5 separate regions of the Homo sapiens genome follow, and regions 1, 2, 3 and 5 are each linked to region 4. The links are contacts of gene promoters, found by promoter capture Hi-C in blood cells and fetal thymus (Javierre and others, 2016). All regions are on one chromosome and are shown on one strand. Each heading gives the region's core, a stretch centred on a gene start or on the middle of the fragment in contact. The rest is flanking DNA. Distances are from core to core; before and after follow the strand shown. Region 1 overlaps F8 (coagulation factor VIII). Region 2 overlaps BRCC3 (BRCA1/BRCA2-containing complex subunit 3). Region 3 overlaps CMC4 (C-X9-C motif containing 4). Region 4 holds the start of VAMP7 (vesicle associated membrane protein 7). Region 5 overlaps FUNDC2 (FUN14 domain containing 2).

Region 1 (2,700 bases), core at 100-2,599, 890 kb after region 4:
GAGCTGAGCACAGCTGCTGCTCACTCTTTGTTTAGGGCCATGGCTTTGTGGAAACTCAGAGTCCTAGAAGAGGGGAAAGCAAACCCAGTCCTAGAATAGGAACTGAACTAAGTTTTCTTGGTTCAGTGGGGGAATCTGCAATATCCCCAAGGTTTCCATTGGCCAGTATCTCCAAAATTCCATTCTAGGGTATGATTTGCTAGATAGAGAATAGTGAACACATCCTTTGCTTAATCAACCAATGATCACAAGGGACAGCAAAGATCACTATAGTTCAACAAAGTCAGATTTATTGGCTCATGGCAACAAGAGACTGTGGACACCTCCCTAAACAAAGGGAAATACTGTATAGAGTTAGTAAAGAATTTTGGGGAAGGGTGGAGGTTAGGTGATATTTAAATGAAGCAAAGTAGAGTTGTGTGTAAAGAAATAACCATGAGGTCTAGACTGTGAAGTGTTCTAAAAAGTTAACATAGACATGAAAGGTTAAGTCAAGGCACCCCTTACCTGAAGCTTGAGCTTTAAATTGAGCTGCTTCTTTGTGTCAAAGTAATTTAGATGACCTAGGAAAGAATGAGATGTTTCATTCTTGTTGCTATTAGTTCAAACATTTCTGGCAGGCTGTGAATTCAGAGAACAAACAACTCAATTGAGTAAGAAAGCAAGAGATAATCAAAGCAAATAGTTGGCATTCAGTGAGTTTATACAGTGGCAATGTGTCCTTGGGAGAAATGGTGTTGTTAACTCTGCAGTTAGCTTTATCTATGTCTCTTATCCCAGCCTGATGAGTAGCAGCACACGTACTGTTGCTTTCTTAGTCCAAGCTAATTTTTATTTCTAAGCATTAAGGGTGCGAGAGAGAGAAAGAACGGCAAAATGTCATAAACAAAAATCTTTCTACTCAAAATAAGCCTGTAAACAAAAGTTTCCAGTCAAATTTAAAAAATATATAATTCTAAGAAAGATAGCCAACAAGCTCAACAGTTAAAGCATGAAACAAGCTAGTTTGTTCCATTAAAAACTTCAGCTATCGATATACACGGTATTTATTTAAAATGTGAGTATAATTAGAAGCACTGTGGGCTATTGAAAAAAAATCATGAGTATAGATGTTTAATATGGACAATTGCTATTTTACTCAAAACTTTTAATTTACAATTGCAGAAGTATAAAAAGTTACAAGAGTAACAGAAATTATCTATAATTTCACTATTATCACACAGTGTGTGAGGGCTTGTATTTTGTAAGTGTTTTTAATTTTTTTCTTTAGTAATTCATTTTTATCATATTTTACACAAGTAGTGGTCTTCATCAAAGTTGAAATAAAAAAATTCTTTGCTCCAGATAGTTTTAGAAACACTGCTATAGGAGACCTGACATCAAAGCCAAGTTATCAAGAGACAGAAGACTACATTTGTTCTTACTGTCAAGTAACTGATGAAGAACTGTCTCCTCCTAGTGACAATTTCCTACAATGAGATTTTTTAAATAGAAGATAAATGTTCTCACTTCTTTTTCAGGGAGTCTGGCCAAGGAAAAGACACAGACCTTGCACAAATTTATACTACTTTTTGCTGTATTTGATGAAGGTTAGTGAGTCTTAATCTGAATTTTGGATTCCTGAAAGAAATCCTCTGCTACTATTAAGAGGAGGTGATTATAGAAAGATCATAAATTACATTACTGTTCAGGAATGAAGGAGATGGGGTTAAAAATGAATTCCAAGAAAACAAAACGTAACCTCAGTTCCACTGGCAGCTATGAGGTAAGAAGATAGAGGAGCTGGATAACGGACTGGCCTCATCCCCCTCATTAAGACTGTCAACAAATACTTTGGGCTCTACTTTCTAAATACTTTCTCTTATCTTCATCTATTATTAAGTGCACAACCTTTGGCAAGTTATTTAACCTCTCTGTGTCTCGGTTTCCTAAATGGAAATAATAGTACATTTTTCATAAGATTGTTGTGAGTGCTGAGTGATTTCACTTAAGTAACCTAGAGCACTGTGTGGCATAGAGTAGGCCCTCAATAGTGTTAGTACCTCCGCCTCTTCCTCCTCCTCCTAATGTAATCACTATGTAATCATAGTAACATAATATTCTTCTTGCCCCCTTATCAATTTACATTGCCATCTTCTTAATTGAGGCCCTCATGATCTGTCTCATAACTCTCAAAGGAAGCTTACTGAAGTGAGTATCTGATCTTGTCACTCTAGCCTCTACAATACTTCAGTTTGCCAGTTTCGGTGGCTCATGCCTGTAATCCCAGCACTTTAGGAGGCTGAGGTGGGCAGATTGCTTGAGCCCAGGAGTTTGAGACCAGCCTGGGCAACAGGGCGAAACCACATCTCTACAAAAGAATTAAAAAATCAGCCGGTCATGGTGGCGGGTACCTGTACTCCAGCTACTTGGGAGGCTGAGGTGGGAGGATCACTTGAGCCCAGGAGGTGAAGGTTGCAGTGAGCTGTGATTGCGCCACTGCACTCCAGCCTGGGTGATAAAGCCAGACCCTATCTCAAACAACAAAACAAATAAAATAATTCAATTTCAAGGTAAAGTGCAAAATGCATTATCTATTCTCTGGTGACATTTCCAGCCTTGTTGTGTTCCATTTCCTGCCTTATCTTCCATGTCACCCAAATATGTAATGCTTTTTCTTGCATGAGACCTCTGCATATGCAGTTTCCTCTGCCTGGAAAA
Region 2 (2,700 bases), core at 72-2,571, 790 kb after region 4:
TCATACTTACTCTGAACTCTTTTGGGCCTGTATGGATTGGAAGCAAGTGTAGAGTACCCGGCCAGTCTATCAAAGGAAAAAAGAAAGAAAGAAATATCACACAAAGAAAGATTAATATTGAAAAAGACCCCAAAGGTCCCTCTAGAAGCAGAATGTTAAAAGAGATACCAAAGATGGAATATGCCATAAATTAATTTCTATAAAAAGGATCATATGCTCAGTCAACATAAGATGGTCACAACCAAACATCTGCTCATGTAACAGCAGGGAATTGTTAACAAACACAAGAACCAGGAACCTAAGAACCTGAACATTCAAACTGCCATCCTGAAAGCTGACAAACTTATTCAACAACTACTTATGATGACAATAAATAAATAAACGCATGATGACAAGGTTGAAAGCATTTCAAATGATGTATAAAGTTCAAGGTACTGAACTTTAGTGTTTCTGGAAAACTGATTTTATGGAAAATATTCATTATTAACACAGATTCTGAGAATATAACTAATGCACTAAATAAGACACTATTGGTATTCTTAGCAGAATTCATACCTACAATGTTAAGTAGTAATTTTCTTTTTGTTTGAACTGACACATATTATAACCTCTTGACATGAACATAAAATTCAAACAGAATCCAAATAAAGAATGGCAAGACTGGCCACTGATCAAACTGTTTAACCTCTGTGAGCTTCAGTTTGTTCATTCATAAAATGGGAATAATACTCCTTCTGGGTTTTTGTCAGGGTTACAGCATATTTACGTAAAGCACCTAATAAGTACATGCCATACAATAGGTGATAAATGGTAGTTGTTACTATTAGTAGCCATCAAACTATATTCAGCATCCAACCACTTCTCATTATCTTCACTCTTACCTCCATGACCAAACCTCCATCATCTCTTGTCTAGATTACAGCAATATCTTCCTAACAGGTTTCACTGATGCCACGGATTCCACCCACACCCTCTGCCCACTGTTCAGTCTACACAGAAGCCAGAGAGATCCCATTAAAACATAAAGTCATCCTCCAGTGACTTCCCAACTCAGAGTCAAATCCAAGGCCTTACAAGATCTGGACCTTGTTTAGGACAACTAAATGAGTTATCATTCAAACTGGGACACTTCCAAGAGGGAAGGTCACTAGGATAATAGGGTAAAACTGGGACTGACAGAGGCAAACTGGCATGTATGGTCATGGTCTTCCTCACTCTGCTGCAGCCACACCAACTTCCTTGATGTTTCCTGAACATGCCACACTCACCTTAGGGTCTTTGGACTGGCTATTTCCTCTGCCTGGAACGTTCTTTCCCCAAGAAATCCACAAGACTTGTTCCCTCACCTTCTTCAGGTCCTGACTCAATGACCCTTTTCCTTGAAACCTTTCCTGACCATCCTATTAAAATCGCAAAGAGATTTTTCTCTACTCTGTGTGTAGACACACACACAGACCCTACACACACACACACACACACACACATGCACACACAATACCTTTGTGTTCTTATCTTCTATGAAACAGGAAAAAATAAGTCCTACAAAGCCTTGATCCATCATCTGGTACATGGCTTGTGTGCGAACATCTGAAAATAAATGAAAATTTAAAAATCTTCTGTCAATAAGCTGTGTCTCACAGCTTATTGATTTAAAGATTGACTTAAAGATTTAAAGATAACAGCAACATATAATCTTCCTAGGATTCAGATTGTACAGGCAAAACAGGAATATATCCTAAGGACAATATCAAAGTAAAAATGTTTTGCTAGGTTAGGGTAATACTATCGAAAGTCTGCCATTAAATAATAAAACTTATTAATAACTCTAGCCTGCCTAGCCCAAGAGTAGCTCTGCTATGGAATGTGGTAATAGAAAGAGAAATTAAAAAGGAGAGAAAGTATTTCCTAGAAAAAGCCTTTTGATGGACAGCTTCTAGGAAAGTGAACATATTTATTAGGCTTGCTACTAAAGAATAGAAGTGTGGAACAATTACAGAGGAAAATCTTACAGGAAGCCATTGTATGGAAGTGGTTGTGATATAAATTCAACATTCCAGAGAGTAGAAACCCCTCCTATATGGTTACTTGATTTTTTTCTTAATTCTGCTTGATATGGTTACTGAACTTTTGAAAAGAGATAATAAACAGGCACCAAATAACAACATTAGAAAGGATTAAAATATTAAATGCCAAAAACGGCCAGGCGTGGTGGCTCTTGCCTGTAATCCTAGCACTTTGGGAGGCTGAGGCAGGCGGATCACCTCAGGTCGGGAGTTTGAGACCAGCCTGACCAACAAGGAGAAACCCCTTCTCTACTAAAAATTCAAAATTAGCTGGGTGTGGTGGCGGATGCCTGTAATCCCAGCTACTTGGGAGGCTGAGGCTGGAGAATCGCTTGAACCTGGGAGGCAGAGGTTGCAGTGAGCCGAGATGGTGCCATTGCACTCCAGCCTGGGCAACGAGAGCAAAACTCCGTCTCAAAAAAAAAAAAAAAAAAGCCAAAAACTAAACAGAGGCTAAATTTAGTCTTCAGACCATTGTTTATAAAGGATACAAAAGATCAGGTGTCACAATGAAACACTGCAGATTACAGTTTTGCCCAATGGCTTACATTCACTTATTTTGGCAATCTGTTCTTCAACATTCTTTGTGTGTATACCTTTTTGATCTAGATTTTGACTTCTCCCCAATGTCCTCCTA
Region 3 (2,700 bases), core at 83-2,582, 810 kb after region 4:
TTATTAATTGACTTCTAATAAAATAAGTGTATTCAACTGATCAATGTTTAAAAACTGTTCATCAACCTGGCAATTAAAGCAAACTATACTTTTTTAAAAAAGACACAAAAGAATTTATTCTGTAAAGGAAAAATGATAGTTTTACTTAGATTACTACCTAAGGAAGCCCTTCTATCTTATATGTCATCCATTTAAAACCTAATTTACAAAATGCCTTACTAAGAAATTGTCTGTCTTGGCCAGTGTGCTCTCTGGCCCCGAAATCAAGGTGACCCTCATGGGGACAATCTCTTCTAGTGGATGATAAAGTTATGCAGTTATCTAAACATTTTTGGAATTCATTTGTATTTGTAGCTGGCAGTATTCCTTGAGTTGAGTTGCACAAGTTTATATTCCATGTATTGTATTGCACCTTGTACCTAAGTCTATGTTGAGGTTTTAAAAGATTCGTCTTAGTTCGAGAAGTCCTGAATTTTGTAAACAAGTATCATGTGCAAATAAAATGTTCTCTAGTCAAATAAATTTGGGAAATGTTAACATAAAGTTTCTTTACTGCATAACTTGCCAGAACAGTTACTACACTAATGTGCTTTATGACTCTCCAAGATTCCCAAACTTATTTGACCAAGGAAAATGTTGGGAGCAAGTTTTCTAAGAATCACATTTTTCCACTCATAAAACCTGTGATTGTATAGGCTTTGATCTGAATCCCTCTCCCTCAGCCTTTGCATTTCTCTGCTGAGGACTTTGTTCATGCTCATATGGTGACTTCTCTGTCCCTTGATCACTGCAGTTGTCTTTCTCTGGGCCTGCATGCCCTCTGAATGCTAGCACACACAATTCCAGGATACTGTGCTGAGAGGTGGTTCCCAAGCTCATCCCGCTGATGCCCAGCATGTTGACCTTTGGGTCACAGCAGCACATCACACTGCCTTTCTTCTGAGAATATTTTGTAGTGACTCATAGGCCTCTTTGTAGTGACTCAGTAACTCAGACCATCATCTCCAAACTCTTTGCCCTCTATTCCACTGGCATTATTTCCTTTTAATGTCAATATAACCAATGCAATTTTGTTTTCCATTCAAAACAAATTTAAATGTCAACATGTTGGTTGTTGCTAGGACCTATCTATGAAATTGAGATGGTCCTGAAACCCTTAACACATGGTTTCCACTTTTTTAAAACAGTTATTGGCCACACTTAAGTCTTCTGTGCTTGAAATCCGAATTTAATATATTTTATTTTGACATTAGTATTTACCAGGTTTTTATTTGTATTTCTCTTTTCCAAAGCTCTGGGAAGGAAGAGAGGCAAAACAACTGTATCTGCAAATGGGAAAAAAGGGGGGCTTTGGAAAAAAATTATATATAGCCAGAGGCTTATGCCTAGAGAATCAATCTCTACCCACGTATACATAGCCAATCATGACAACCACTGTGGCGTTCCTTTGTTTCCCTTCCCTACCCACCATACATATACACCTGTTCACTGAAACATTGCTTGACCAGTACCTGAGACTTGGGGTGCCCAGAACTGTATCATTCCTGCTATTGAGCAGAATACAATACTGTGCTTTAGGGAAGACAGGACTTGTGAAATAAGCAAAGCAAATGTGTAAGGTGACTTTGTTTAAATATAAATGCTACAGTAGTCAAAAGAGGCAAGAATTTTCTAAAGTTTTCATAGAGGAGGCAGGCACCTGGACTCTGCTATAATAGCACTAAGATAGGCAGAGAGGCCCAGGGAGGCATTTTAGGCAAGTGGAAAACAAGAGCAAGGGTATGGAGCTAGAAATGAGCCTGGTATTTGGGGAAAGTTGGTCTCAACTGCAGTGGTAGTTGTAGTGCCTGCTGGAATTGGTGACATATAGGATGTAGCAACTGAATAAGAGGAAGAAATCCAAGATAATTCATAAGTTTTGAGTCTGCAGGATCAGGAATGGTGGTGTTGCCATTGAGAGAAATCAGGATTTGGTTAAAGAGAAAGTTTAGACGAGTTTGAAATGAGAGAGCACATATGTATGAAAACTAAGACAGGAGCTTACACCAGGCTCAGAGTCAGATGCACTCAGGGTATAATGGGTGAAGCATCTGGTTGCTCTCGACAGTCTCACTTTGAGGACTCTAACAACCACCCTCCCACGCTGCATTTCTTTTCCCACCTAATGAGAATAGCAGGTCTTTGTTTTGAGGGGCAGCTCCCCAGTGCCGTATCTATACTCTGGCCAAAGGTAGAAATACAGTACAACTGCGCTATAATGCTCTGAGTAAGGTCTAGAAGATTGACTCATGCAAAATGCACATCAAGTTATTGTGAGGTCCTGAAATGATATCTGGGGCTTGGGCAGAGGATCGTTATAGAGTTTGCCCTACCACTCAAATGCTTTGGGAGGTATGCTTCCTTTACACCTCTCAAATGTGCTTCTGGTCTTCTGGCTTAGGAAGTCAAAATTTAAACCTAGTCCTCTATGGAAAAATGGGCTCCTGTAACATCCTGCAGAATTATTAAAATAAAACAAGGACCTAGATGGATAACTTTCATTTGCACTCACTCAGCTCCAAATCAGCATGATCCCCAAAGTCTCTTGCAGCTCAGAAATTCCATGAAGCTAGCTTACTTTTCCTAACAAGAAAATCCCCTTCTAGAAATGCCCATCCGCTATTTGTAAACTTTCTTAGTAAACTGATAAATAGATCATTT
Region 4 (2,700 bases), core at 125-2,624:
GGACCTGGTAAGAATAATATTTTCACAACCAAACTATCTTTCTAAGTAAGATAAAGCAGTTGAGCTAATAGTAATCCAATCCCCCACTCTTCTCTCTGGGTCTTAGAAGGAATAAACCAACTACAGATAAACCATGAATTCTGATGCAATAACCTTGGAGGAGATAGAAGAATGAAGAATAAACACTGCTTAGACAGGGGAAAAGAAGAGGTGTTTACGAAAAGTCATGTTACAGATCAAGATTATTCCTGTTGGTATTACAACTATTCTTTCTGGACGATGCCCTGACCTCTGACTTTCTTAGGATAGGATCCCATCCTTTCAAGTCAACCACCTGTTTTATTTTGCATTAACCAATATATAACATAATCCTGATTATTCCTGTTTTCCCCTCTAGACACAAACATGTAAGTTCCTGAGAGTAGCAACCTCCTAAGTCTTGTTTACAGCTGTATCCCCTGCACTTAAAAGAGTGTCAAGCATATACCAGCCGTTCAATAAATATTTGTTAAATGTATGAATGGATCTGCTCTCAGCCACAGGTATTCAAAGGGAATTAATATCCTAAACATGACTGTATCCTCTGGGATCAAGGGAGGGATAATGGAGATACAGGTAGTTGAAAGCAATTAATGAGGCCAAATGAAGACAGTTGGTTGGTTGTGAGAGTTATGGGAGACGGAGATGTAAAGCATTTACCAAAGTACGCAGTCAGAATTTGATAAACATTGGCCATTAATAAAAACACCAAACAGGTCTGAAGCTGAGGAAACGGGTCTAGGCAGAAATACAGTCCCTGAACAGAGGAAGAAGGGGACTGTCAATACTGAGCAGTGGAGGAAGGGCGAATAAGGGGCTAGGAACCCACGAAGGAGCATAAACAGCCAGAAGTAGAAGGTGAAGCAGAAAGTGACGTCATCGAACAAGGACGTAGAGAGTTTTTAGAAGACTCTGGCGATCTCAAGAGATTTAAATGCTACAGAAAGGTCTTGTAGAATACAAACTGAGAGAAAGTTAACATTTTTTCCCTCCTGTAATGACAGCTTAAGTGACGCATTCTGACACTCTTTAACTCGAGGCCTTTCCAGTGGCATAAGACGCACCTCGCCAAAACTGGTCCTGCCCGACAACTGGAACTGTCGACACCAGAGAAGCCCAAGTCACCCCTGCACTGCCTCCTCGCTCCACCCCAGCACCTTTCCATCGACACCTCCGCCCTCCCTCCGCAGTTCTCTCCCCGCCTCCCGCAGGCGCACCCCACTCCATTTACCTGTCCGGGCACCCTCTGAGGGCGCGCGGGCTCGGGACGGAGGGACGCGGGTCAGTGCAGGGTCGCCAACTGCCCGCTCCCAGAGGAGGCTGGGACCGGACGCCGCTGACTTCCGCATGAAGCGCCCCGTCTACGCGTGGCCTCTTGGGAGTGGGAGCGCTCCTCCAATGGCAGCAGGCGACACGGCTAGGCCTGCTGCGTTCCCAGCCCCCCGCACTTCCCAGGAGCCGTACTGCATTCTGGGAGTAGTAGTTCCGGTTGGAGTATCACTGAGTGTTTCACGTTCGTTCGACAGCTCTTGTGGTAAACAGCGTCAAATGCCGTATAGGGATCCAGGAAAATGAGAGGATGCAGGCTAGATAAAGAATCTACCAGCAATGAGTAGGCGGCATAAATGAAGAGCCAAGCTTGCCCCGTCTCTCCTGCTTAGTCTCAGTAGGCAGCGTCGCCCGTTTCCTCACAGACAAAATAGAATTCATCTGACAGGAACTGCCTCTACTTTCGCCATGAAATTTTCTAATTTTCTTGTACCCCTCACCAATCCTTTCTCCTATTCTTTTTGCAATAATAATAATAATAAACGACTACTCTCCTTTGATCTAAGCCAGCCCTCTTCCATCTCTATTCCCTGTTGCCGACTCAGAGTCAAGCTCCTCTGATGAACCCTTCCGTTGCATGACTCCTCAACGGCTCTCTGCTAACTCGCTCTTTACTATCAGGACTTAAAGGCTGTCAAAATTTCTCTCATCTAAAACATTCCAAAGTCACCTTTCTTAACCCCATACCCCAAGCCCCCTCATCAAACACAGACCAAACACAGATAAGCTAGTGGTCTTTCTCTCACCTCTCCTTTACAGACAGAATTCTCAACAGTGTTGCTAAAACAAATAGATACTTTTAAGCCATTACCGTATTTCAACTCTGCAGGACTTTAGTTTCATTATTCCTTTTTTTTTTTTTTTTTTTTTTGAGATGGAATCTCACTCTGTTGCCCAGGCTGGAGTGCAGTGCCGCGATCTCGGCTCACTGCCAGCTCCGTCTCCCGGGTTCAAGCGATTCTCCTGCCTCAGTCTCCCAAGCAGTTGGGACTACAGGCGTGCGCCACCACAGGCAGCTAATTTTTTATATTTTTAGTAGAGACGGGGTTTCACCATATTGGCCAGGCTGGTCTCGAACTCCTGACCTCATAATCGACCCGCCTCAGTCTTCCAAAGTATTGGGATTACAGGCATGAGCCACCACACACGGCCCTTATTCCCTCCTTTTTGAACCCCTTTATTCTGTTAGCTCTTTCCAAGAACTACACCCTGCTGGTTCTCCTCCCACCTCTGTGGCAGCTCTTCATTTTCTTTAGAAATGTTCACATTCCATAGGGTTCTGCCCTATGCCATCTTCTCTTCTTACTCTTCACACTCTTCCTGGTGATCTTA
Region 5 (2,700 bases), core at 154-2,653, 830 kb after region 4:
TAGCTGCAACACTCCTGAAGAATAAGGTGGAGGAATTTGCATTACCAAATATTAAGCTTTAGTACTGTCATAAAGATCGAAAGTTGACCAGTGGAACAGAACACAGAAACCAGAGTCACAGCCACACATACATGGGTTCTGATATATGAAAGAGACAATGCTGCAAATGTTGGGAAAGGGAAGAATTATTCACTAAATTCTGCTCAATTATCAGTATGGAAAAAAGGAAACTGGATCCCTATGTCAAACTATAACTTGTGATATAACTGATCTCCCAACATTATGCTTGCCTCCTGCTCTCACTCCCCTGGTGACAGATAACATGAGTGCCTGCCACAGATTCTCCATGTCTCACCTCTGCAGCAAAGCAGTGTCCCTGTACCCCTTGAATATTGGAATTATCCAACCCCAAAATCTCATTTTGAGGTGCCTTTCTGGAGACATTTTCAATACCAATTATTTCTGTCAGGGCCCCAAAACGAAACAGAGGACACACTCAAATTAAGACATTTCAAAGCAATATTAAAATGTTTATGAAGTTTGGGGCAGCATATAAGGGAAACCACAGGGATAGAGATGTTACTGCACTTCCACCTGAAGGGTCAAGGGGAAGGAGAGAGAGGTGTGAGGAGGGGCCCCACCTTGCAGGGAGTCTGACCTGTCTAGCAACAGAGCCAGCACGTAACAAGCCCACAGGGAAGCAGCCAACAAAAGTGAGGCTTGGGCAACAAAGGAGATGCAACTTGCACCATGTTTCTGCAGAACTGTGCTTGGGAGTCCTGAGGTCATGGTAGTGTGAGGAAGCCTATACTGGCACAGGGACCACATGGAAGAGCACTGAGACTATGGACAGGGGGGAAATAAGGAGAGGAGGAGGGAAGACAAACAGAGACAGAGACACAAAGAGGCCCCACAAGTCCAGACCTACCCTAACCCTCTGATCATCTGGCCTGTAACCACATGAGACTCTGATCCACAAGCACCTACCTTAACCCTCCCCAAACTCCTGTAACCATGAGAGAGAATAAAGTGATCATTATTTGAAGCCATTAGGTTTGGGGGAATTTGTCATGCAGCAATACCACACTCAACCCAGCTACAGCCAGTTACCAGCTTCCCTCTTCGATACATTTGATTTTCACCTGACCTATCTGCAAAACTCACTCCAATCATGGTGCTAATGCAGAACTTACCTTGCAAAAGTGAGGGTTGCCAACTGTGGGAAGAGACAAACGGCTGTGAATTCAGAGACTCTGGCATGATTCAGCAAGTTATGGCTCCCACAGCACAGCAGAATCACCTCAGGAGTTTTAAGTTTTCCAATGAAATCAGACTGTGGGTCAGGAGTGGCACACGTTGGCTCTTTTAAAAACTCCTAGGTGATTCCAATGTGGAGCCAAATTTGAATACCAATGCCACAGAGCTAAGAAATGTATGCCTAATACAATCAAATGTCAGTTTTCTTTTGTTTTTGGAGAAACTGCTCCCTTTTTCAAGTCTTGCTTGTTAGTCTCTCCTAAGCAGTCTCAGAGAACTGGCAACCACTGGTTCTGAAACTATGGGTCAAGGAGACAGCAGACGACATCTGACTGTACTGTCACTTAGCTCCCATTTCTCATCACATGCTCAACATCCCCTCTGTGAAAGCTAGCTATAATATTAGCATATGACACTAAATCATCACAGCACACTTGTATTTTTGAAATCACATCCGCTTAATAATTCAGCTGGTCTTAAAAACTCTTTTAAGGGAGCTATGATAAGGAATTTGCACTTCTGTCGCCACATGAGGAAATAAAATGGGACTGGCAAATAACATTTACTAGTATAATGAATAAAATTTGACTCAAACGGTCACTAGCATTTAAAATAGTACATGAAAACAAGTGCTAAGGCTAGTCTAGTGTGACATAGCCAGGACTGTATTACAACTCCCCACACCACATTCCTTAATGGGCAGGTGGAATTTCCAAACATCTGAGAACATTTCACATACAGACCTGAAGGAGAAAAAATCCACCTCCCACAGCTGTTGCAGCCAACTTTCCAACCTTCTGGAATATGAAACCTGTGCACCTACAAAAACAAACCAACATCAGACAAATTGATGAGCTGTCAGTTACATACAAACATGCATTTCTGGCAATGTTCATATCTTACTTAGCTTAAGATGACCTAGCTCCTTCCTACCCCCTACATAAAGCCAGCCCCAAGAGGAGCATGACATAAGGAAATCAAATCTTGGCTCTATGAATCTTGTGGTCTTGAGTAAGTCCCTTAAAACTCTCAGGTTATATTTTTAAAAGATGACTCTGGCTACATTGTGGAGAAGAGATTAAAGGGGGAGGACGAAGGCAGAGACTCTAGTTAAGACGGTGAGGTAGCGATCCAGAAGAGAAGTGAATGCCAATGGGCCGAGGTAGAGATGGCAAGGAGGGAGCAGACCTGAGGAACTGTTTGTGAAGAAAAAAAAAAACACTCCTGAGTTTGAGGACAGGATGGTTGCAAGGGATAAGGCACAAGATTCTGTCCTGAATGTGGCATTTTTTACAATATAAAAACAAGGAAGAGGAATAGAGGAAAAGGTGGGGGAAGGGAGGGGAGGAGATAATGTCATTTTGAATATGTTGAATGCAAAATGTCCATATGATATCTGAGTGGCAACATCTTGTAGCCAGTTTAATATAATTATGTGTTTCT

What was found. Contacts are between HindIII fragments. The CHiCAGO score rates a contact against its expected background, and 5 or more counts as called.
Region 1: a fragment that was not itself captured here is called in contact with the fragment with the promoter of VAMP7 in region 4 in 4 of 17 cell types (naive CD4 T cells, activated CD4 T cells, naive CD8 T cells and 1 more); the score reaches 7.7 in naive CD4 T cells.
Region 2: a contact is called between a fragment that was not itself captured here and the fragment with the promoter of VAMP7 in region 4, in 2 of 17 cell types (non-activated CD4 T cells and total B cells). The highest score is 5.3, in non-activated CD4 T cells.
Region 3: a contact is called between a fragment that was not itself captured here and the fragment with the promoter of VAMP7 in region 4, in 6 of 17 cell types (total B cells, monocytes, fetal thymus and 3 more). The highest score is 7.0, in total B cells.
Region 5: a fragment that was not itself captured here is called in contact with the fragment with the promoter of VAMP7 in region 4 in 6 of 17 cell types (monocytes, M0 macrophages, total CD4 T cells and 3 more); the score reaches 7.6 in monocytes.

The regions. Positions count from the first base shown.
Region 1 is chrX:154,986,126-154,988,825 of GRCh38, reverse strand. It overlaps F8 (coagulation factor VIII), which reads left to right. Exons shown (of 26, transcript NM_000132.4): 5 at 1,521-1,589. Among named protein-coding and RNA genes, the nearest start is that of F8, 35 kb to the left of the region's middle. The HindIII fragment of the contact is 1,668 bases long and covers 516-2,183 here.
Region 2 is chrX:155,088,150-155,090,849 of GRCh38, reverse strand. It overlaps BRCC3 (BRCA1/BRCA2-containing complex subunit 3), which reads right to left. Exons shown (of 11, transcript NM_001018055.3): 6 at 1,499-1,587; 7 at 11-66. Among named protein-coding and RNA genes, the nearest start is that of BRCC3, 18 kb to the right of the region's middle. The HindIII fragment of the contact is 4,571 bases long and covers 1-2,700 here.
Region 3 is chrX:155,066,583-155,069,282 of GRCh38, reverse strand. All of the region lies in intron 1 of CMC4 (C-X9-C motif containing 4), which reads left to right. The region is part of intron 1 of MTCP1 (mature T cell proliferation 1); the gene reads left to right. Among named protein-coding and RNA genes, the nearest start is that of CMC4, 3.2 kb to the left of the region's middle. The HindIII fragment of the contact is 3,486 bases long and covers 1-2,700 here.
Region 4 is chrX:155,880,019-155,882,718 of GRCh38, reverse strand. It overlaps VAMP7 (vesicle associated membrane protein 7), which reads right to left and starts at 1,374. Exons shown (of 8, transcript NM_005638.6): 1 at 1,271-1,374. The HindIII fragment of the contact is 3,926 bases long and covers 1-1,679 here.
Region 5 is chrX:155,045,885-155,048,584 of GRCh38, reverse strand. FUNDC2 (FUN14 domain containing 2) reads right to left here. Exons shown (of 5, transcript NM_023934.4): 3 at 2,001-2,076. Among named protein-coding and RNA genes, the nearest start is that of FUNDC2, 20 kb to the right of the region's middle. The HindIII fragment of the contact is 2,690 bases long and covers 59-2,700 here.